Regions from separate parts of the Homo sapiens genome. Here all the other regions are linked to region 1. The links are contacts of gene promoters, found by promoter capture Hi-C in blood cells and fetal thymus (Javierre and others, 2016). All regions are on one chromosome and are shown on one strand. The core of a region is centred on a gene start or on the middle of the fragment in contact, and the rest is flanking DNA. Distances in the headings are between cores, read along the strand shown. Region 1 holds the start of DACT3-AS1 (DACT3 antisense RNA 1). Region 2 holds the start of QPCTL (glutaminyl-peptide cyclotransferase like). Region 3 holds the start of DMWD (DM1 locus, WD repeat containing). Region 4 holds the start of CCDC9 (coiled-coil domain containing 9).

Region 1 (5,638 bases), core at 1,117-3,616:
GCCGAGAATCACTTGAACCTAGGAGGTGGAGGTTGCAGTGAGCAGAGATTGTGCCATTGCACTCTGGCCTGGGTGACAGAGCAAGATTCTGTCTCAATGAATAAATAAATAAAGGCCAGGTACAGTAGCTCACACCTGCAATCCTAGTGCTTTGAGAGGCTGAGACAGAAGGATTGCTTGAGCCCAGGAGTTGGAGACCAGCCTGAACAACATAGCAAGACCTCATATCTTTAAAAAAAAAAAAAAAATTAGCCAAATGTGGCGGTGTGCACCTGTAGTCCTAGCTTCTTGGGAGGCTGAGGCAGGAGGATTGCTTGAGGCCAAGTTAGAGGCTGCAGTGAGCTATGATCGTGCCACTGCACTTCAGCCTGAGAGACTTTGTCTCCAAAAATAAATGAATAAATAAATATATCATTTAAAAATACATAAATAAACGTGAAAGGATAGACTTTTTGGTAAGTTCTGCCAAGTCTAATTCCGGTTCTTCCATTACAAGGAAGAGCAGAAATTAGGGAGACAGACAGGAGATGCCTCCTCCTCTCCAGCACCTAGACGCCCCCCAAAAATATTCCAAGTCTACACCCCTCTATTTGCAAGTCTGGCCTCATTCCTTCCAGTTGCAAAAGGATGAATCTTTAAAAGATTAGAAAGTCCTTGGCCTGAGTCTGGCTCTCTGCCTCCTCACGGTGCCCCTCATCCTTCCTCTGCAGGCTTAATAAGAGTGTGGTTAGGACCCCTGGAGACCCCTTTGCCCAAACTTCCCTTACCTTGTTTCTCCCCTCACGTGCCCCTCGTTGGTATCCAGTGCCCATTTATCTCTATTAGGAAGTCATTCTGCAAGTCTAACTTAAGTTATTCTTGATGAAAGGAACCTTTTTCCTTCTTGAGAGCAAGCAGGACCCAGGGAGCCCCTGCCCTCACCCAGGATTCCTGCCTCTCTTCTCTGCCACACCCCTGATCTTTACCTGGTATCCCCATCATTCCTATTAGAAAGTAATCAAGTCTGGCTTCAGTCTTTCTTGCCTTGAAGGAAGTGTATTCCTGGCAGGGGCTGGGGGTGGGGGGATAAGTCATAAGACAAGGGTTGGGGGATCAGAAGAAGCCCTAATCCACTCTTCAGAGGGACCCAGGAACCCCCAGCACTAGAGAAGTTTATATTTAGCGCTTCTCTGCTCCTCCTCCTCCCCCCGCCTGCCACCGCCTCCTCCCTGATGCTGGGACAAGCTTTGCCTAGAGACTGGGGGGTGGGGGGACAGGCCTCTCCACTATCAGCTCGTGCCGGGAGGACAGAGGGCTGAGGGGGAGGAGGGGACAGAGGGACCGAGGAGAGGGAGACTGAAGGGCAGAGATGGGGAAGGTGAAGGGTGAAAAGGGGAGAGACCGAGGGCAGAGGGGGAGAGGACACAGCTACCCACAGCTACCCCAACCTCATGCCTCGCATTCTCCTTGTCAGGATGGAAGGCGCCTTCCAAGCCGAGCCAGCTTGGGGTGGGGGGAGCTAGCGAAGGCCCCCACAATCCGTCTCTAACTTTGGGAGGGGGTGGGGCCTCCCACAGCTGTTTCTGTTTCCAGAAAAGAATGTGCAGGGGGGTCCCACTCCTGAGAGGGGGAGGGGCCGGGCGTGCAGCCCCGGGAGCCTGGCTTCAGTCTTCCTCCCCACTCCCCATCTGGGGAGGGGGCGGTCGAGGTCAGCGGCGGGGAGAGCCCCCTCCACTGCCACCTCGGCTCAGGTTTCCCGAAACGGGAAGCTCTGGCCACACACAGGCTTGGGGATGGGGATCTGCCGTGGAGCCAGGGTGTGCGGGCTGGGGGGAGGGGAAGACAGACTGAGCCTGGGACGTCGGGCAAGAAGAAGAGAGCGAGGTGCAGACAGGCAGGAAGGGAAGGCCAAGGAGACAGATGCAGAGGGACACAGAGATCACAGAGACAGAGAGACAGGATGAAGAAAGAGAAGCAGACACAGAAAGTCACAGGGATGTGGCAGGACGGAGAGAGTGACAGAACCCAGGACGAGATCGGGAGACTCAAGGAATGACATAGAAAGGGGAGAGGCATGGGGCGTCCTCAAGTCATTCCGGAGACCTCTGCCCATCTTCCACCATGAGAACACCCAGAGTCCAGAAGTCTCCCCCAGGCGCTGCCTCGACCTGCCTCCCCTTGGGTCAAGGAGAGCTGGGGCCAGGTAGGAAGCAGGGGAAGTGTCACCAAAGGGTCAAGATCCCAGTGGGGGGTCCTCAGGGACTGTGAGCTTCCTCTCAGCAGTGGTCCCTCCCTCTGGAGGCCCTGAGATTCCCCTCCTCCCACCCCGCCCCCTCCAGAGATCTCCAAGCACACCAGGACTTAGGGAAGATGGAGCCCTGGTGGCGGGGCCCAGAGAAGGGCATGTTTGGAGCCTGGCTGTGTCACCTTGGGTGAGTCGCTTGCTCTCTCTGAGCCTCAATTTGTTTCTCTGTTAAATGGGGACTATCACCCCGTTTCCCAAGCCGCAAGAAGACAACGCCTGCAAAGTACCCGGTCTCGGGTTTGACACATACTTGGCGCCCACAAGGATTTTCTTTGGGGAAGGGGTGTAAGAGACAGGGCCTGTGTTTCTCACGAGGCCCCAGTGGGGGCGATGCAGTTCCCCCTCCCCCGATTTGGGGGCGGGGAGGCCAGGTCCGGCCCGCCGCCGGAACTCCGGGGTCGCCAGCCCCACCCCCTGTCCTTTCTCACTCCCTGCCTACCCGGGTCCCCAACCCCCGCCCGGTGTCTGAGCATCCAACCGAGACAGACAGACACAGACGGGGGTGGAGGGACGGACGGACAGGCAGCCCCTTACCAGCTGCTCCTCCAGGGCCGCTGCGGCCCGGCGCGCCGCCGCCGCATCTTCATCCTCATCGGCGTCCTCCTCGTCCTCGGCCTCGGCGCCCCCCATTCCGGGCTGGGCCAGCCGCAGCGCCTGCTGCACGCGGTACTCCTGCCTCTCCCGGAGCCAATGTAACTCGCAGAGCCCGGCCAGGCTACCCTCCAGCCAGCCCCGCAGCCGGCCCCGCTCAGGGCTCACCGGGAACGAGAAGGCCCGGATCATGGCTGCGGCCCCCCGCCCCAGCCCGGCCGGGCCCCGCGGCCACCCCTCTCCCGGTCCCACCTCCCCGCCCCAGCAGCCTGCCCGCCCGCCCGCTGGCCGGGCTGTCACCGTCTCATCTGCATAGGCGCCCGCCCATTGGGCCGCCCACCCGCGCCTTATCTGCATGGCCACGCCCCCGGCGACCGAGCAACAGCCGCCTATTGGCGAATAAGCTTCCTGACGAAGACTCTCGGGCGTGCAACCGCACCGCCCAACACGACGCATGCTCGCAACTGCCTACTCACTCCGCTCGCCACGCCCCCTCCGTGCAACTGCCTCGGGGCCCTGGCCACGCCCCCCCACGCGTCACAATGAAACAAGCCCGCCCTTGCTTCAATGCCATTGGTCTGTGCCTGGCCGGTCCTGCAGCAGGTTCCACCCTCTTGCGGGCGAGCGCTGGCTACCATTGGACTGTCCGGCGCGAGGGGAAGGGTGATCTATAAATAGGGAATGGGTACACGTGACAGTTTGGCAGCTGCTCCTACCCCTCCACCCCGCCCAACCTTCAGCTTCTGAGGCTGCGCAGGGGGAGAAAAGGGTTAGGGGGTCGAGCCCTGACTTCGCCTCCTCTTCCAAGAAGCCTTCCCAGACACTCAGCTGTAAAACCAGACGGACGTCCTCCGATGAAATTGTTTCTACTTAGGGCCGGCTTCACCGGCTTGGAATCCACTTAGAAGGGTCTTCGCGCTTGGTTGAATGTTCTGCAATTTCTGTCTTGAAATTTTTAGTTTTTGAGCAAGGGGCCCCTTATTTTCACTTTGCACTAGGCCAAATATGTAGCCGGTCTTGCTGCTAAGAGTCTAAGATCGATTGCATTCCAAATTCTGGAATTATAAGACCCTGGGTGGAAGATTCTATGCTTTGACCAGAAGAGAGTCTAAGCAGCTTTTGTCTCCCAGGTGCTAGGAGGATGTGTGCTCATCATTCTTCCATTCCAGGGGCCTTTGTTCTACGTTCTAAGGGGCTTTGTTCTCAGCCTTCTATGATGCTCTATTCTCAACGTTCTCTGGTCCTAGGAGTCTGAGCCTGACATTCGTTTCCAAGGCTTCCTGCTGTCTCTCCAGGCTCCGCAAGCAGGGCTGGGGCACCCTCAGGCGGCCAATCTGTATCACTACGCCGAGCCTGCCTCTACCAACTTCCAAGACCTAGCTCTAATATTCATACTCATCTCTCAGACAGACCTTGGCTCCCTAAAAGCCAAGGCCCAGAAGATCATACAAGAAATTCCCTCTTTTATGATTCCCCGTGCACGAAGTGACCTTCTGGTGGTGAGATGGAGAGAAATTGATAGTGGCGATAGACAGCAAAGTCTCCAGGAGCCAGACTTCCTCGGGGTGAGTCACAGATCTGTCACTTTCCAGCTGTGTGACCTTGGAAAACTTACTTAACCTCTCTGTGCCACCGTTTCTTCATCTGATCACGGGATCATAATACTGGCTGCCTCATACAGTTGTTCTGAGGATTCAATGAAATGTATTAGGTACTTGGAGCAGTGTCTTCCATGGATTAAGAGCCACAGAAGGGTTTGACAAATAAGTTTAAAAACTAATCTAGTAAGTTTCCGGGGGGAAATGTCTTGAAATTTATTAGAGACAACCTTTATTCAGTCTTCCTCTTGTTCAAAATAGACTTAGAAAATTAGTCGGGTGTGGTGGTGCACACCTGTAGCCCCAGCTACTTGGGAGGCTGAGGCGGGAGGATCACTTGATTTCCTTTTTGACTTCTTGATGCTTTTATTAATGATGATGCCAAAAGATTTCTGGAGAATCAGCCAGGCGCAGTGGCTCACGTCTGTAATCCCAGTACTTTGGGAGGCTGAGGCGGGCAGATCACCTGAGTTCAGGAGTTCAGATCAGCCTGGCCAACATGGCGAAACCCCATCTGTACTAAAAATACAAAAATTAGCTGGGCATGATGGCACACACCGAGACTGTGGCACTGCACTCCAGCCTGGGTAACAGAGGGAGACTCCGTCTCAAAAAAAGAAAGAAAGAAAGAAATTGAGAGAGAGAGAGAGAGAAAGAAAGAAAGAAAAAGAAAGAGAGAGAGAAAGAAAGATAGATGTCTGGAGAATCAACAAGCAACAGTTGCTTCCAAACATGGCACACAAACTGGATATGGTGGCATGTACCTGTAGTGCGAGCTACTCAGGAGGCTGAGGCAGGAGGATCACTTGAGCCTGGGAGGCTGAGGCTACAGTGAGCCATGATTGCACCATTGCACTCCAGCCTGGGTGACAGAGCAAGACCCAATCTTTAAAAAAAAAAAAAAAAATTGTGATTACAGAGACTGAGTCCCATGCAGGGGCTGTTAATGAAGTTGCAGAAGCTCATAGACCTTGATTTATAGATGGTAGGGATGGGAAGAGGTTCCCATAAAAATCGAGTGGTGCGTTGGGAGAGGCCTTTGAGGAAGGCGTGTAGGGCACAGTGCTCCATCCAAAGGCTTTGGTGGTGCGAGTGAAGGGGATGGGGCCCTGGGAGTAGTGATTTGTGCTGAGAAAGGGGAACAAAACTGACAATCCTAATTGCA
Region 2 (5,638 bases), core at 1-2,500, 970 kb before region 1:
GCCACCGCGCTCGGCCTCCCCCAGTATTCGTAAAATCGCTGCCCCTTAACATTCATTTCAATAGGACTAATTATCTAGGACCACTCCCGTTATCGTTTAAAACATGTTTTTCATAATTAAATTTTTTTTTTTTTTTGTAGAGACGGGGGTCTCGCTATGTTGCCTAGGCTAGTCTCGAACTCCTGTGTTCCAGCGATGCTCCGCCTTGGCCTACTAAAGTGCTGGGATCACAGGAATGAGCCCCCGCGCCCAGCCCAGGGCGTTATCTGATAAAGCTGTCCCCTCTCCCGAAGTCACGATGCGTCAAAGGCCCCACGCCCGTTCTCAAACTCATCAGGAGAAAAGCAGGACGCTGCATCCCTAAAACATCTGCCCCTGCCCCCCCCGCTCTGCTCAACCCTTCCCACACTCAATCGGTCAAATATCCACCCTCAACCTCATTCCCGCCGCCTAAGCCTAGCCCGGCCTCACATGATGGTCACTACGCTCTCCGTTCACTCCCGTTTCCTCCGCGTTGCTGCTGCCTGAGGAGAGAGAGGCGGGACTTCCTCTTCCTGCGACCCACTTCCGTTGGCGCCTGCGCAAAGCCAACCAGTAAGTGGAGGCGTGGCCTGTTGCCACAGCATTCCCCACCAACGGTGCACAATGATGGAATAAAAGCTTCGGGTAGGGGTTCGCGGCCAGTCAGAACCACACGGGGGCAGATGTTTATGACAATGAAGACAAAAGGAAAGGCAGTCTGATTCAAACCGTTTCTTGAAGAATGGTACAGGTTGAAGGAGGGAAATGACAAGCTATTTCCAAATGCCCGCCGGCCGTGACTTCGGGGGCGCGGCCTCCGTGAAGCCAATCCGCTCCTCGCTTCGGAGACAGGCACCGCCCCTCTTCCCTCTGGGACGCGTTACTGACGTATCTACTGATCTTTCCGACCCTGCGCCACCAATCCCCTGCCTACATCCGGAAGGGGCATGGACCTGCGCCCGGGAGATCGAATATTTTCCATGATCAAACGCTGTTCATTGGCTTTCCCTCCTCCGCTAAGGCGGAGCCTACTTCTCTTGCGCTCCCATTTGGGTCGTGCCATTCTCAGGGGAACCAACCCCAATACCTAAGGGAGGCTGGGAGGCGTGTCCTCAGGACCGTAGTTCTTATTGGTTTCGCTGCTCGCTGTGGGGTGGGCTGGTGCAGCCGCAGCTGTTGCTTATTGGCCCACCGATTCCATGGGGAGGAACTTGGCTGGGCCTAAACTCAATCCGTGGTCTGGTACAGGTTTCAGGGCAAAGCGGCCATGCGTTCCGGGGGCCGCGGGCGACCCCGCCTGCGGCTGGGGGAACGTGGCCTCATGGAGCCACTCTTGCCGCCGAAGCGCCGCCTGCTACCGCGGGTTCGGCTCTTGCCTCTGTTGCTGGCGCTGGCCGTGGGCTCGGCGTTCTACACCATTTGGAGCGGCTGGCACCGCAGGACTGAGGAGCTGCCGCTGGGCCGGGAGCTGCGGGTGAGGCTGGGCGGGGACCCGGGCACCGCGGGGACCCTCATTCCCTCCCCGCTGTTACCCAGGGTTGACGTGGCTTTAGCGTACGGCCCTAACCGCAGATGCCACCGTCTTCGTCATCTGAGCGCATGACCCTTACCAAAGGAATAAGGCTTCGGGCTGGTTCTGCAACAGTAGCTTCCTTTTAAGAGGAAAGGTCTGAAATAGTAAGACGGGGGGGTTCAGGGTTCTACGCCTTTAGTCAACTATTTGGAAGAGTCCCTTCCTCCATCTCCCCTCTCTCTCACTGGGCCTCGATTTCCCCATCAAGTTTGAGGTAGGCTGGACCGGATGGTCTTGGAAGGACTTTTCCTGAGCCTTGGATTTATCCTAGAAGTCTCCGATGCTGGAGGCGGCAGATTAGGAAGAGAACCCGGGGCTCCTCGCGGGTGACGGCGCCCGGGGTAGGGTTGAAATGGGGGGGTTGCTCTCATTCTTCCCTTCCCTATCCCACCTCCTTCCCAAGGTCCCATTGATCGGAAGCCTCCCCGAAGCCCGGCTGCGGAGGGTGGTGGGACAACTGGATCCACAGCGTCTCTGGAGCACTTATCTGCGCCCCCTGCTGGTTGTGCGAACCCCGGGCAGCCCGGGAAATCTCCAAGTCAGAAAGGTAAAGGGACCCACCTCCAGTCCCTGACCCCCTAGCCCTCCAGGGAATGGGAAATAAGAATCCTGTTCAAGATCCCAAAGAAGCTAAGAGGAGGAACTGGGGCTCTGACTGGAGTTAATCGGACTCTAGACTCCATGCTGGTAACAAACCACCAGGCTGTACTGCCCCCCTTAATGCCCCCACCAAAAGCTTACTGTGTGCTAGGCATAGGCAACAGACAGCCCTATAAGGTGGGTACCAATATGATCTTCATTATGCAGATGGGGAAACTGAGGCTCAGAGAGGTTATACACATTGCACAAATCCTACAGATAATAAGTAGTAGACCTTAGCCGGGTGCAGTGGCTCATGCCTGTAATCCCAGCACTTTGGGAAGCCAAGGTGGAAGAATCACCTGAGAAGTTTGAGACTAGCCTAGTCAACCTAGTGAGACCCAATGTTTAGAAAATCATAGACCTAGAGTTGAACCCAAACAGGTTGGCTCCGAGCTGGTGCTGTAATGTATCTGTTGTCTTCCAGAAAGCATGAAGAGTCATTTAAAGGCCAGGCGCAGTGGTTCACACCTCTAATCCCAGCACTTTGGGAGGCCGAGACAGGCAGATCCCTCGAGATCAGGAGTTTGAGACCAGCCTGGCCAACATGGTGAAACCTCATCTCTACTAAAAATACAAAATTAGCCAGGCGTGGTGGTGGGTACCCGTAGTCCCAGCTACTTGGGAGGCTGAGGCACGAGAATCACTTGAACCCAGGAGGCGGAGACTGCAGTGAGCTGAGATTGCGCCACTGCACCCCAGCATGGGTGACAGAGCGAGACTCCATCTCAAAAAAAAAAAGTCACTTAAATACTGCCTGAGTCCCAATGCTACCTCATCCACTTAGATTGTGACCTTGGACTGGTTTCTTTTTTATTTTATTTTATTTTATTTTATTTTGAGATGGAGTCTCACACTGTCGCCTGGGTTGGAGTGCAGTGGCGCGATCTCGGCTCACTGCAACCTCCACCTCCCAGGTTCAAGCAAATCTCATGCTTCAGCCTCCTGAGTAGCTGGGATTACAGGTGTGCACCACCATGCCTGGCTAATTTTTTGTATTTTTAGTGAGACGGGGTTTCACCATATTGGCCAGGCTGGTCTCAAACTCCTGACCTTATGATCCGCCCACCTCAGCCTCCCAAAGTGCTGGGATTACAGGCGTGAGCCACCGCGCCCGGCCTGGACTAGTTTCTTAACCTCTCTGAGCCCATTTCCTCATCTGTAAAATGGGGTCATGTATTGGCAGTCCCTCCCCTAAATGGTTCCTAGAAGAGGGCTTAGCACACAGTGAGAGCTATTTAAGGGTAAGCTGTGATGAGTCTTGCTGGCTTCAAGAGGTGGGGTCTCCCCAACATCTGGCACCCAGTAGGTACTCACCAGCACTGTCAAGGGAATGATTTTAATCAGAGTAGGGGGCTGGGCACAGTGGCTCACATCTGTAATCCCAACACTTTGGGATGCTGAAGCAGGCAGATCACTTGAGGTCAGGAGTTCGAATACCAGGCTGGCCAACATTGTGAAACCCCATCTCTACTAAAAATACAAAAAATAGCCAGGCGTTGTAGGGGGCGCCTGTAACCCCAGCTACTCAGGAGGCTGAGTCAGGAGAATCACTTGAAGCCAGGAGGCAGAGGTTGCAGTGAGCCAAGATCAAGCCACTGCACTCCAGCCTGGGTGACAGAGCAAGACTCCATCTCAAAAAAAAAAAGAAAGAAAGAAAGAAATCCATTCAATCAGAGTGGGGCTTTAGTGTCAACCCATCTGCTCTGCATGGCTCAGGTCACGTGGCCCTTCTCCCCACCTCCTCCCCAGTCCCCGTCCACCCTCCCACCTCTCTCTTGCCGCTAGTTCCTGGAGGCCACGCTGCGGTCCCTGACAGCAGGTTGGCACGTGGAGCTGGATCCCTTCACAGCCTCAACACCCCTGGGGCCAGTGGACTTTGGCAATGTGGTGGCCACACTGGACCCAAGGGCTGCCCGTCACCTCACCCTTGCCTGCCATTATGACTCGAAGCTCTTCCCACCCGGATCGACCCCCTTTGTAGGGGCCACGGATTCGGCTGTGCCCTGTGCCCTGCTGCTGGAGCTGGCCCAAGCACTTGACCTGGAGCTGAGCAGGGCCAAAAAACAGGTGAGGAGCAGGAGTCGGGGAGGGTAGTGGGCTACCTCCACCTTTTCCCAAGCCCCCACCCTCCCTTGCCTGGACATTTGTCATCCCTCTCGTCTTCCCACTCTACTCCACGCACAGAGCCACAGGGATCTTTTTTTTTTTTTTGAGACGGAGTTTCGCTCTTGTTCCCCAGGATGGAGTGCACATGGCGAGATCTTGGCTCCCCGCAACCTCTGCCTACTGGGTTCAAGCAATTCTCCTCCCAACCTCAGGTGATCTGCCCACCTCGGCCTCTCAAAGTGCTGGGATTACAGGCGTGAGCCACCGCGCCTGGTCATCACAGGGATCTTTTTACCTTCTAGATGTCAGATTCTCTTTCCTCTCCCCCAAACCCTCCCAGGGCTCCCGCCTCATTCCAGCCATAATCCAGAGTCCTTATATTGGCCCACGAGCTGTGCCCTGTTACCTCTCCAGCCTCATCTCCCACCCCTCACCTCTTGCTCACTCTGCTGTAGCCACCCCCACCTCCTCTGGGTTCCTCAAACCCGCAGAGCTTGCTCCCACCTCAGGGCATCTGCACTTGCTGTTTGCTTTGGATAGAATGTGCTTTTCTGGCCAGGCTCCGTGGCTCACACTTGGAATCCCAGCACTTTGGGAGGTTGAGGTGGGTGGATCACAAGGTCAGGAGTTCAAGACCAGCCTGGCCAACATGATGAAACCCCATCTCTACCAAAAACACAAAAATTAGCCAGGCTTGGTGGTGCACACCTGTAACCCCAGCTACTCGGGAGGCTGAAGCAGAGAATTGCTTGAACCCGGGAGGCGGAGGTTGCAGTGAGCCAAAGTTGCACCACTGCACTCCAGCCTGGGCAACAGAGCGAGACTCCATCTCAAAAAAAAAAAAAAATTATCTGGGAGTAGTGGCATGCTACTTGGGAGGCTGAGAGGGGAGGATGGCTTGAGTCTAGGAGTTTGAGACTGCAGTGAGCCATGATCGTGCCACTGTATTCTAGCCTGGGTGACAGAGACCTTGTCTCTTAAAAAAAAAAAAAAGAATATGCTTTTCATAGATATCTTCCTGGCTGGCTCCCACTCTTCACTCAGGTGTCCACTCCAATGTCACCCCTTCAAAGAGGCCTTCCCGGCCGGGCGTGGTAACTCGCACCTGTAATCCCAGCACTTTGGGAGGCCGAGGCAGGCAGATCATTTGAGGTCAGAAGTTCGAGCCCAGCTTGTCCAACAGGGAAACCTCATCTCTACTAAAAATACAAAAATTAGCTGGGTATGGTGGTACATACCTGTAATCCTACTACTTGGGAGGTTGAGACAGGAGGATCACTTGAAACTGAGAGGCGG
Region 3 (5,638 bases), core at 1,994-4,493, 870 kb before region 1:
AAAGCCTCCAGAGCCCAGAACTCAAAGAGCAAGGGCATCAACTAAGTCCCGACTTATTTACTAGCCTCAATTCTCTAATCTGCAAAATGGGCAGCACACTTCTGTATCCACTGGTTGATGAAAACTCAAAGAATGGCCGGGCGCGGTGGCTCATGCCTGTAATCCCAGCACTTCGGGAGGCCGAGGTGGGCGGATCACAAGGTCAGGTGTTTGAGACCAGCCTGGCCAACATGGTGAAACCCCATCTCTACCAAAAATACAAAAATTGGCCGGGTGTGGTGGCTCACGCCTTTAATTCCAGCACTTTGGGAGGCCGAGGCGGGCAGATCACGAGGTCAGGAGATCGAGACTATCCTGACTAACACGGTGAAATCCCGTCTCTACTAAAAATACAAAAAAATTAGCTGGGCGTGGTGCTGGGCGCCTGTAGTCCCAGCTGCTGGGGAGGCTGAGACAGAAGAATGGCGTGAACCCGGGAGGCAGAGGTTGCAGTGAGCCGAGATCGCGCCACTGCACTCCAGCCTGGGCGACAGAGCGAGACTCCATCTCAAAAAAAAAAATTAGCCAGGTATGATAGTGCGCACCTGTAGTCCCAGCTACTCAGGAGGCTGAGGCAGGAGAATTGCTTGAACCTGGGAGGCGGAGGTTGCAGTGACCCGAGATTGTACCACTGCACTCCAGCCTGGGCGACAGAGTGAGACTCCGCCTTAAAAAGAAAAAAAAAATTAAAAACAATAAAAATTACAATTACAATTAAAAAAAAAAAAAAGAACCGGGCATGGTGGCTCACACCTGTAATCCCACCACTTTGGGAGGCCGAGGTGGGCAGATCACGAGGTCAGGAGATCGAGACCATCCTGACTAACACGGTGAAACCCCATCTCCACTAAAACTACAATAAATTAGGCGGGCGTGGCAGCAGGTGCCTGAAGTCCCAGCTACTCAGGAGGCTGAGGCAGGAGAATGGCATGAACCCGGGAGGTGGATCTTGCAGTGAGCAGAGATCGCGCCACTGCACTCCAGCCTGGGTGACAGGGTGAGACTCCATCTCAAAATAAATAAATAAAAGAAAGAAAGAAAGAAAGAAAACCCAAGGAGTAAAGTATTCAGCACAAGGGTAACACAGCACAGGGCCTGGGTACAGTAAAGGCAGCTGTCATTAGCTGCTGTCACCCCATTCTCCATCTCTCCCTGGTCCTGCCCCTCTCAGGCCTACACTGTTCCGCAGGCAGCTGCATCCTAATGGCATATAGTGGGTAGGTGAGAAGGCAGAGAAGTTGGGGGCTCTGGGGGCTGCAATCACCTCCTCATTGAACAGCTTGCTGGTGTCCTTTTTGATGAGATCCAGGTACTGCACTTGACCCGCTGAGAAGCCCACCAGCAGCGAGATGGTCTCGGTGGCAGCAGTGAACTGGTTGAAATCGTGGCAGGTGGGCTGGGTGCCCTTGTAGATCCGCTTGTCAATTGGCTTGTTGAGGTCAATGGACTTGAGGGGTGGGAGAAAAGGAGTTAATGGTGTATGCCACTGAGGAGAAGGAAGAGGATGTTGAGGTTGGGGGAAACCACTAAGAGGAAGCAGGGTTAGAACCCAGAGGGAAGTGGGGAGGTGAGTAGGTGGATTGCGAAGGACGGGGCAACCACAGACGGGAAGGGGACCCAAATCACAGACAAGAGTAGCAAAAAAGATGGTAAGGATCCCCCTTGACCACAGTGCCTCCCCAAAGTTGGGTCACCTCTAATTCAGAGACACCCTTGTCCACATAATCAGGGTTCTGGGTCCACACAGTTCCTAAGCTCCGATTCCTTTTAGCCTCACCACTCCATCCTATAACCTCAGCAACTCCCTTGGGACCTAGTACCACACTATTCCAAGACCCCCAAACCTTGAGGTCACCCAAATTTCCAGGACTCTAAAGCCTAACATCCTAGCATTCTCTTCACTTTGTAGTCCCTAAACCGCCACAGTTCTGGGACCCGTCAAACCTCACGGTCTCCCACATTTTAGGCCCATTTATTACCTAGGGGCTCCGAAGGATCCCCATCATTTCTGGGATCACCATAAACGGCCAGGGTTCTCACCACATCGCTTTAGAGATGTCCTGAATCACACCTGCAGATTCCCCTGCCAGGGCCTCTCATTCCCTTGAGAGCTCCCATCAGCTTCCGGACGCTCATCTCCTCCAGGACCCTCATGACTTCCAGACCCCAATTTTCTCTAGAATCCCATTCAGCTTCTGGATCCCCTATCACCTTCAAGGCCCCCATCACTTCTAGACTTCTCCTCATTCCTGGGCTCAATCTCAAGACCCCTCTCCCACACCTCCAGGCTGCAATACTGGGTTCTCCATCACCTCTGGGCTTGCATCACCTCATGATTCCCCATTACCTGCAGAATGCCTGCCACCCCAGAACCCGGGGGATCCCACCTCATCTCAGATACCCCATCATGTCCAATAGTCACCATCCCAGAACTCCTACGCATAACGGGGGTAAAGGGGATTTCCCCCATCACCTCCAAGATGCCTGCCCAGCACCCCGCGGGCCTCTCATCACATTTCAGAATCCTGTACTCCCTCCAATGCTGTCGCCCTACAACGTCCATCACATTTAGAATGCCTATCTCAGGGCCCCATATCAATTCGGGGACCCTCCTATCAGTTCTCTGGAACCTCCATCCTTTCAGCACCCAGGGCCCCACGATGCAGGCCGCTCACCCGTTGGCTCCCACGACGACAGCAGCCTGGGTAGAAATAGAGCTCACGGCCCAAGTTGAAGCAGACGCGGTCTCCCCCCGAGCCCAGCCCCGCGGGCGTGGCGGGCGGCTCCCCGGCCCCGGCGCTGTCCGGCTCCCCGAGGCGCACGAGGCTGAGGCGCACGGCGGGCAGGGCGGGCCCGGGTCCGGGGCCTGCGGGCGGCGGGGACGACGCGGGGCCTGCAGCGCCGGGACCGGAGGCGGAGGCAGGGCCGGGCGGGGGCTGCGGTGGCTGAGGCGGCACCGGAGTCTGGGCGGAAGCCGGACCCGACCTGCGAGCGGCGCCGTCGCCCGGGAGTAGCTTGTAGAAACCCTCGCGCGTGCGGAATTGCGACTTAATCTCCGCGCAGTCCCCCATGGCGGCGCCGGGGCCCGAGCCGCCCTCCGCGCCGCCCGCCGCCATCTTGGGCGCCCCCCGGGCCCCGCCACTGCCGGACTGCCGCCCGCAGCCGGGCCCCCTCCCGGAAGCCGCTGGCCCGCGCCGGAAAAGGTGGGGTCGTCGCCCGGGCAACGCCTCTTCGATTGGCACCCAGATCCGGAGGCGGGACGAATCCCCGCGGTCGCTCGGGTAACGGTGCTGGGACTGTGGGCGGGGCGAGAAGGTGGGCGCGGCCTTTGAGCCTGTGACCGACTTGTGGTTGGCTGCGGGGGCGGAGCCCGCAATGGAAAGAGGCGTGGCCAGTTAGAAAGCTCAAGTCCTTAGCAACCGCGCCCTGGGAACGTTTGCCTAGCAACGGAGGGATTTTTTTTTTTTTTTCCCCCACGACAAAGAAGCCCTCATCCATAGTCCAGCCTTCCCATGAAGTCACAGCCAACCCCAAGTGACCCTGGTCTCTCCTTAGACGCCCAATATACACTCCCCTGACCTCCAGTGTTTCCCACTGACATATTCAAATCCCTGAATGACCACAGCATCTGCTACCATTCTTCCCCACCCTTGGTGACCCACCAAATCCCTGTGTCCCCACACAACTCAGAGGACTTCCTCTGACCCACTATTGATTAATGCTAACTCCAAACATCCTTCATATTTTCCACCAACCTCCAATGTATATTTCCATGATTTTCTTATTTTCAACAACCTCACTTGTCCTCCAAAACCTACCTCTGATTCCCAAATTGTATTGATCCCCACGGTGCCCCAGTGTCCCAGTGATCCACTCGTAACCCAAAGTCTCCCCCTGATCCCAACAGCTCCTACTCATAGCCAGTGCTCCCCATGTCTGCTGAAGCCACCCAGCCCCATCATAGATCTTTCTAGTCTCATGTAGTCAATGGCCTCTACGATTTCTCCCTAGAGTGTCCCAAGGGCATCTCACACTTAAAAAAAAAAATCCTACAATGGTTCGGGCATGGTGGCTCATGCCTGGAATCCGAGAATCCCAGCACTTTGGGAGGCTGAGGTGGGAGGATCGTTTGAGCCCAGGAGATCAAGACTGCTATGAATTCACATCACTGCACTAAAGCCTGGGGGACAGAGTCAGACTCAGTCTCTCTAAAAAAAAAAAAAAAAGAAAGAAAAAAGAATCCTACAATGAAATTGACGTCTTACACCAAATCCTCCACCTCTCTTGCATCCCCACCTTAGGGCTAGCTCTGCCGTCCACTCAGTCAACCAGGCCACAGACCTGGGTGTCTTCCTAGATGTGTACCATTTATCTTCACTCTGCCCCCGCTTACAGCCTCCAAGTCTTTTGCATTCGACCACGTGGAATTCCTCTTTCTCAGTTCCTTGTTCTCCCTGATCCAAGCTTCTCCTCTACCCAAGCCCTTCCCCCACCCCCACATCAACCGTGTCTCTTGGTCTCCCAGATTTCTGTCTCACCCCCACTTCCACCTTTCACTTGGCATGTAGAGAGGTTTTATTTTGTTTTTGTTTTTGTTTTTTTTGAGACAGTCTCACCCTGTCACCCAGGCTGGAGTGCAATGGCTCCATCTCGGCTCAGAGACGGGGTTTCACCATGTTGGCCAGTCTGGTCTCGAACTCCTGACCTCAGGTGATCCACCCACCTCGGCCTCCCAAAGTGCTGGGAGTACAGGCATGAGCCACTGCACCCGGCTTTTTTTTTTTTTTTTTTTTTTTTTGAGACAGAGTCTCGCTCTTGTCACGTGGGCTGGAGTGCAATGGGACGATTTTGGCTCACTGCAACCTCTGCCTCCTGGGTTCAAGTGATTCTCCTGCCTTAGCCTCCTGAGTGGCTGGGATTACAGGCACCTGCCACCACACCCAGCTACTTTTTTGTAGTTTTAGTAGAGACGGGGTTTCACCATGTTGGGCATGCTGGTCTCAAACTCCTGACCTCAGGTGATCCGCCAACCTTGGCCTCCCTAAGTGCTGGGATTACATGTGTGACCCACTGCACTAGGCCTAGAGAGGTCTTTCTAAAGCATGAATATGATCAGGGCCCTCCCCTGCTCAAAACCCATCTGTAGCTCCCTAGTGCTCTCAGGGGAAAGTTAAGCCCCAAGTGATCTGGCCCCTGCCAACCTCTTTTCAATCTCATATCTCACCACTAACTCCTCACACTATCCACCACCTAAAATGAGGCTTGAAAAACTACCCCAACATATCACACTCTCTCTTGTCCTTGGGTCTTTGCACATTCTGTTCCCTATTCTTGGAATGCCTTTCCCCATTCTTTTCTTGACCCTTTAAGAGTTGGCTCGGGAGCTCTGTCAGTCCTCTGGGCTTCCCCATTTGGGCTGTCACTGTCTGGAAATGAGTCTCTCTCCCTATAGTGTTGTGAGGTCCAGGAAGGCAGGACTGCAGCTGTCTGTGTCCCCAGCACAGGGGTGGGCTGACAGGAGGTATTTCAATAATGGTTTGATGGCTAGGTAAATGAATAAATAAAACAGGTGGGGCTGGTCGCGGTGGCTCACAGCTGT
Region 4 (5,638 bases), core at 1,349-3,848, 600 kb after region 1:
CTCAATCTTGGCTCACTGCAACCTCCATTTCCCAGGTTCAAGTGATTCTCCTGCCTCAGCCTCCCCAGTAGCAGGGGTTACAGGCGTGAGCCACAGCGCCTGGTCGGCTTGTCACACTAGCTTTATTATGTCTAAGTTTTGGTTAATGCTGTAACCTCCTGGACTCTGCAGCTATTCAGCTGCTGTTGCTTTGAGTATCTTCTAGTTTTGGGAATGCACCAAGCTCATTCACCACAGGGCCTTTGCATAGGTTGTGTCCTTGGCCTGCACAGGCAGCCTCTCACCCTCCGGCCTCTCCTGCCCCTCTTGCCAGGCATCTCCCACAGGTGCTGCTATTTCCCATTTACTTGTGTCTTCCCTTAGGAGGACAAGGATGGGGTCAGCTTTGTTCATCATCTCAGTTCCCCCACCAACTTTTCCTCCCAGCACGCAGCCTGGCAGTCAATGCTGATTTGGGAGAATGAACGACTGATTCTATCGGTTGAACGTTTATTTTATATATATATATATATATATATATATATATATATATATATATATATACTTTTTTTTTTTTTTTTTTTTTGAGACGGAGTCTCGCTCTGTCGCCCAGGCTGGAGTGCAGTGGCGTGATCTCGGCTCACTGCAAGCTCCGCCTCCCGGGTTCACGCCATTCTCCTGCCTCAGCCTCCCAAGTAGCTGGGACTACAGGCGCCCGCCACTACGCCCGGCTAATTTTTTGTATTTTTAGTAGAGACGGGGTTTCACCGTTTTAGCCGGGATGGTCTCGATCTCCTGACCTCGTGATCCGCCCGCCTCGGCCTCCCAAAGTGCTGGGATTACAGGCGTGAGCCACCGCGCCCGGCCTTATTTTATATTTTATGATTTCATTTACTTATTTATTTTCGATACGGAGTCTCACTTTGTCGCCCAGGCTGGAGTGCAGTGGCACGATCTTGCCTCACTGCAACCTCTGCCTCCCGGGTTCAAGCAATTCTCTATCTCAGCCTCCCAAGTAGCTGGGATTACAGGCATCTGCCACCATGCTTGGCTAAATTTTGTATTTTTAGTAAAGACGGGGTTTCACCATGTTAGCCAGGCTGGTCTCGAACTCCTGACCTTGTGATCCACCTGCCTCGGCCTCCCAAAGTGCTGGGATTACAGGCATGAGCCACTGCGCCTGGCCAGTTATTTATTTTTTTGAGACGTAGTCTTGCTCTGTCGCCCAGGCTGGAGTGCAATGGCACGATCTCAGCTCACTGCAACCTCTGCCTCCCGGGTTTAAGCGATTCTCCTGCTTCAGCCTGTAGCTGGGATTACAGGTGTTACAGGTGCCCGCCACCATGCCTGGCTAATTTTTGTATTTTTTAGTAGAGACAGGGTTTCACCACGTTGGTCAGGCTGGTCTCAAACTCCTGACCTCGGGTGATCCACCCGCCTCGGACTCCCAAAGTGCTGGGATTACAGGCGTGAGCCACGGCGCCCGGCCTATTTTATTTTGAGACGGAGTCTCTCGTTCTGTCGCCCAGGCTGCAGTGCAGTGGTGCAATCTCGGCTTACTGCAACCTCTGCCTCCCGGGTTCAAGCGATGCTCCTGCCTCAGCCTCCCAAGTAGCTGGGATTACAGGCGCCCGCCACCATGCCTGGCTAATTTTTGTATATGTATATTTTTTGAGACGGAGTCTCCCTGTGTCGCCCAGGCTAGAGTGCAGTGGAGCGATCTCGGCTCACTGCAAGCTCCGCCCCCGGGGTTCACGCCATTCTCCTGGCTCAGTCTCCGGAGTAGCTCGGACTACAGGCGCCCGCCACCACGCCGGGCTGATTTTTTTTGTATTTTTAGTAGAGACGGGGTTTCACCATGTTGGCAAGGATGGTCTCGAATTCCTGGCCTCAAGTGATCCGCCCTCCTCGGCCTCCCAAAGTGCTGGGATTACAAGCGTGAGCCACTGCGCCCAGCATTTTATTTTATTTTCGAGAAGGGGTCTGCTCTGTCGTCTAGGCTGCAGTGCGGTGGCATGATCTCGGCTCACTGCAACCTCTGCCTCCCCGGTTCAAGCGATTCTCCTGCTTCAGCCTCCCGAGTTGCTGGGATTACAGGCGCGCGCCACCACAACCGGCTAATTTTTTTTGTAGAGACGGGATTTCACAATGTTGGCCAGACTGATCTCGAACTTCTGACCTCAGGTGATCCGCCCGCCTCGGCCTCCCAAGGTGCTGGGATTACAAGTGTGAGCCACCGCCCACGGCCGGTAGAACATCTGAAGCTTCTAAAGCGAACTCTAAGGTTTCATTGGCACGAGGGGGCTCGAACCACGCCAGGCTTCCAGGCGTCAGTGCCCAGTGCTTGGCATCTACTGATAGAAACCAGGAATGAGGGGCTGGAGGCGGAAACAGCTTGAAGAAAGAGGTAGAGGCCAGGGAGTGAGGACGGTGTCTCCTTTTCCTGGAAGTTGGTAATTCAGGCAGAAGGAAGTTGGATGAGCTTGCGGAACACCCGGGGGGCCAGTCGGCCCCGCTCCCGCATCCATCGCGGAGGCGCGGCCCCTTTAAGGCTCCCGGAAACGGTCCCACAGGACCGGAAGTGACCCTCTTTATTTCCCTTCCTCACGTGGTGCAGGCAGGAAGTGACGCGCCTGGCCCGGGAGCTGCGGTCGCAGAGGCCGACGGAGCCGGAGTCGCGGACGCCGCGGGGTCTCCGGGACAGGTGACCTGGGGGAGGGGGCCGGGAGCGCGCCCAGAGAAGGCGGGGCCTGAAGCCCCACGTGGCGGGGAGTGCGAACAGGCCCGGGCGGGGTCGGAGTTCTCTGCGGGGGGCGGGGACAGGACGCCCACATGGGAAGCTGGAGGGGCGCTGGCGGGGCGGGCCGTTGGGTGGGTGGGCAGGGTCGGGGCGGGGCGTGGCCAGAGCCTGGGCCGGCGGCTGTGGGCGGGACCTAAAAGTTGTGGCTGGACTGTGGGCGGGGCCATAGTGTTGCTTGTTCAGCTGTGTGGCGGGGCTCGGACGCCGGGCGGAAGCTCTGTGGGCGGGGCCAGAAAGTTTTGCCTTACTGGAAGTGGGTCCAGATTCTTGGCCGGGACGTTGGGGGCGGACCCAGAGGCTGACGCAATGGCGGGGGCGGGGCCACAATGTAGTGGGGGAGCCAGGGGGCGGGGCCAGGGTGCTGGCGGGGAATGCTGGGGGTGGAGCCAGAAAGTTTCGTCTGAGCCACGGGCGCGGCCAGAGCGTTGGCCGGGAGGCGGGGAAGCGGGGAGTTGAGCCAGAACCCTGGGGAAGCCATGGGCGGGGCCAGATGCTGACGCAACGAGGTGTGGGAGGGAGTCAGGGGGCGTGTCCAGGAGGTTGGCCAGGCCAATCGGAGGCGGGGCCAGAGGGTTGACTGGGCAGGCCGGGGGCGGGGCTGGAATAATAATAAGAGATGGTAGGGGCGGGTGTAGGCTGTTGCCTGCGAGCCAGGAGGCGGGGAAAGAGCGTGGCTGGGAAAGTCGGGAGCGGGGCCACATTAATGGCCCATGGGTGGGGGCGGGGCCAGAAGTCTGGCGGGAAAGGCGGGGCCAGAAAGTTTTTTCCCGAGCCGTGGGCGGGGCCAGAGCGGTTTCCAGGATGTCGGGGACGTGGCCCTGGCATTCCCAGCCGGATTGAGGCTGGAGCTTTGCACAGAAAATCTGGGGCGGGCCTGGGTAGTTTTGTCCTTGTTGGGGCGGGTGGAGTATTCAGTGGGGCAAAACGCCAGTTCCAGGAAGCCTCGCCAGTGAGTTCTGGGCCTGTGTACAGAATCCTTTCGGGGGAGGCGGGAGGCTGTCGACCTTCCGTAGGGCGCTGGAGACGGGACTAGGACGTCCCTGAGGAAGGCGCGGGCTTGGAATGTTCTCTGAGAGCTTGGGCAGCCAATAAGAGTGGGGTTCGGACTTTCTTTGAGCGTGGGATTGGGAATGTTTCTGAACCTTACCTGGTGGAGCTAGAATATTCGCCTGGATATGAGAGGCACCAGGATGAGCACAGGGAGGTGGGTCTGGAACTTTCTTTTGCAGGCTGGTTGGAGGGGTTGTAGTTGGAACTCTCTTGAGATAGGGAACCCGGGCTAACACTCATACCACAGGGTGTGGCGGCTGGCCTAGAATCAGCCTTTGGAGGAGAGCAGTGTTGGATACTTAAGCAGTGGGTGGGGGCCAGAACATCCCCAAGGTGGGTTTGACTAGATCGTTTACATGGGAACTGGGTGAGTCCACAAAGATCATGAAAGGGCTGAGTCTGAATTTCTATGGAGAAGATGGAGGTGGCAGTTGAAAGGAGGGAGAGTGAGGGCTACAATTCTCTTGGGGTACAGGGTTTTTTGTGTATGGCTGTGAGGATCCCGCAGTATGTTAGAGGGTGAAGTAGGTTGGGGGGCCATTGGCCTTTGTCCTTTTTTTCCCTCTGTCCCCAGGAACCCTCAGTGCTGCGTCTAGATTCTGCAGGGGAGGTTTGCTGGGACCTTGGCTCCACGCAGCCAGCGAAATGGTGAGGCTGAAAAATGGGGTCTCTAGAATCTGAGTTTTGGGGAAGGGGGCTTGGGAGGATGGGATCCATAGGGGCAGACTCTCAGACCCTGGGGGAAAGTCCCTGGTATGGATGGAGGTTTTTCCTTCCATCCCTCAACTGCCTCCCGGTCTCAGGCAGCCACACTCGATTTGAAATCAAAGGAGGAGAAGGATGCTGAGTTGGACAAGAGGATCGAGGCTCTTCGGCGGAAGAATGAGGCCCTCATCCGGCGCTACCAGGTGCCCTAGCCCCGCCCTGGGAGACCCCATCCCCTCTCTTCCCCGCAGTGAGTTTTTCTCACCTCTCCCTTCCTTAAAACCTTTTCATGGCTCCCCATCACTGTCAGGATAAAGGCCAAAGGCCTTAGCCTGACATCCCTTCTTTCATTCCATTATTCATTCATTCATTCATTTGTTCACAAATATTCCCCAAGATCTTTACCAGCCCCAGTGCTGAGTGGTGCTGGGGATATAGCTGTGACTGAGACAGACCCAGGCCTGCCCCCTCCAGGGTCCACCGTCTAGTCAGGGAGACAGCCCTGTCCTCAGGGATGCCCCAGAGCAGACAAGTCTGGAATCAGGAAATTCAGGGGTCTGTGGGAGTCCAGAGGAGGCTCTTGACCCAGCCTTGGGGATATCAGGGAGGGCTTCCTGGAGGAGTGGACTCTGAGGCTTGAGTGGTGAGTAGACAATAGCCAGTTGAAAAGGCGAGGGGAACATGTTTCAGGCAGAAAGAACAGTTTGTGCAAATGTTGGAAGCAAGAGAGAGCTTGGAGCTTCAAGTTGGAGGGTTGGTTAGGAGAGAATTGACCTGGGCAGGTCAGCAGGGGCCAGGCTGTGCTAGGCCCTGAATGCCACCAGGATGAGTTTGGACTTTGTCCTGAGGGCACTGGGGAGCCAGGGAGAGCCTTGAGCAGGGGTGGGACCGGTCAGAACAGCTCTTTAGGAAGACGCCTCTGGGTGCTGTGCGGTGGTGGGTGCGAGGAGGTGATACTGGAGCCCAGAGACCAAGGAGGAAGCTGGGGCTGGAACCCTAGTGGGAGAGGAGGTACCTGGCTCAGGGCAGGGCTGTTGAGAGGGACTCAGTTACTGATGGGCAGTTCAGGGCAGGGGGAGGAAGAGGGAGGATTTAGGACAAGGC

What was found. Contacts are between HindIII fragments. The CHiCAGO score rates a contact against its expected background, and 5 or more counts as called.
Region 2: a contact is called between the fragment with the promoter of QPCTL here and the fragment with the promoter of DACT3-AS1 in region 1, in 2 of 17 cell types (total B cells and fetal thymus). The highest score is 6.7, in total B cells.
Region 3: a contact is called between the fragment with the promoter of DMWD here and the fragment with the promoter of DACT3-AS1 in region 1, in 5 of 17 cell types (total CD4 T cells, erythroblasts, fetal thymus and 2 more). The highest score is 7.4, in total CD4 T cells.
Region 4: a contact is called between the fragment with the promoter of CCDC9 here and the fragment with the promoter of DACT3-AS1 in region 1, in 3 of 17 cell types (fetal thymus, total B cells and total CD8 T cells). The highest score is 6.0, in fetal thymus.

The regions. Positions count from the first base shown.
Region 1 is chr19:46,657,998-46,663,635 of GRCh38, forward strand. It overlaps DACT3-AS1 (DACT3 antisense RNA 1), which reads left to right and starts at 2,367. Exons shown (of 3, transcript NR_040042.1): 1 at 2,367-2,411. It overlaps DACT3 (dishevelled binding antagonist of beta catenin 3), which reads right to left and starts at 3,185. Exons shown (of 4, transcript NM_145056.3): 1 at 2,819-3,185. The coding sequence starts at 3,067. RefSeq lists silencers at 2,983-3,232, 3,443-3,562. The HindIII fragment of the contact is 2,055 bases long and covers 1,223-3,277 here.
Region 2 is chr19:45,691,416-45,697,053 of GRCh38, forward strand. QPCTL (glutaminyl-peptide cyclotransferase like) reads left to right here and starts at 1,251. Exons shown (of 7, transcript NM_017659.4): 1 at 1,251-1,495; 2 at 1,998-2,141; 3 at 4,022-4,303. The coding sequence starts at 1,289. It overlaps SNRPD2 (small nuclear ribonucleoprotein D2 polypeptide), which reads right to left and starts at 538. Exons shown (of 3, transcript NM_001384647.1): 1 at 472-538. The coding sequence starts at 473. RefSeq lists enhancers at 74-794, 613-742, 753-882, 1,408-1,958. The HindIII fragment of the contact is 1,670 bases long and covers 659-2,328 here.
Region 3 is chr19:45,789,602-45,795,239 of GRCh38, forward strand. DMWD (DM1 locus, WD repeat containing) reads right to left here and starts at 3,244. Exons shown (of 5, transcript NM_004943.2): 1 at 2,715-3,244; 2 at 1,304-1,486. The coding sequence starts at 3,155. RefSeq lists enhancers at 1,615-1,674, 1,695-1,744 and a silencer at 2,893-3,372. The HindIII fragment of the contact is 5,053 bases long and covers 1-4,501 here.
Region 4 is chr19:47,253,927-47,259,564 of GRCh38, forward strand. CCDC9 (coiled-coil domain containing 9) reads left to right here and starts at 2,599. Exons shown (of 12, transcript NM_015603.3): 1 at 2,599-2,683; 2 at 4,404-4,477; 3 at 4,633-4,737. The coding sequence starts at 4,475. RefSeq lists an enhancer at 1,948-2,857 and silencers at 2,748-2,857, 3,068-3,307, 3,348-3,397. The HindIII fragment of the contact is 17,839 bases long and covers 2,242-5,638 here.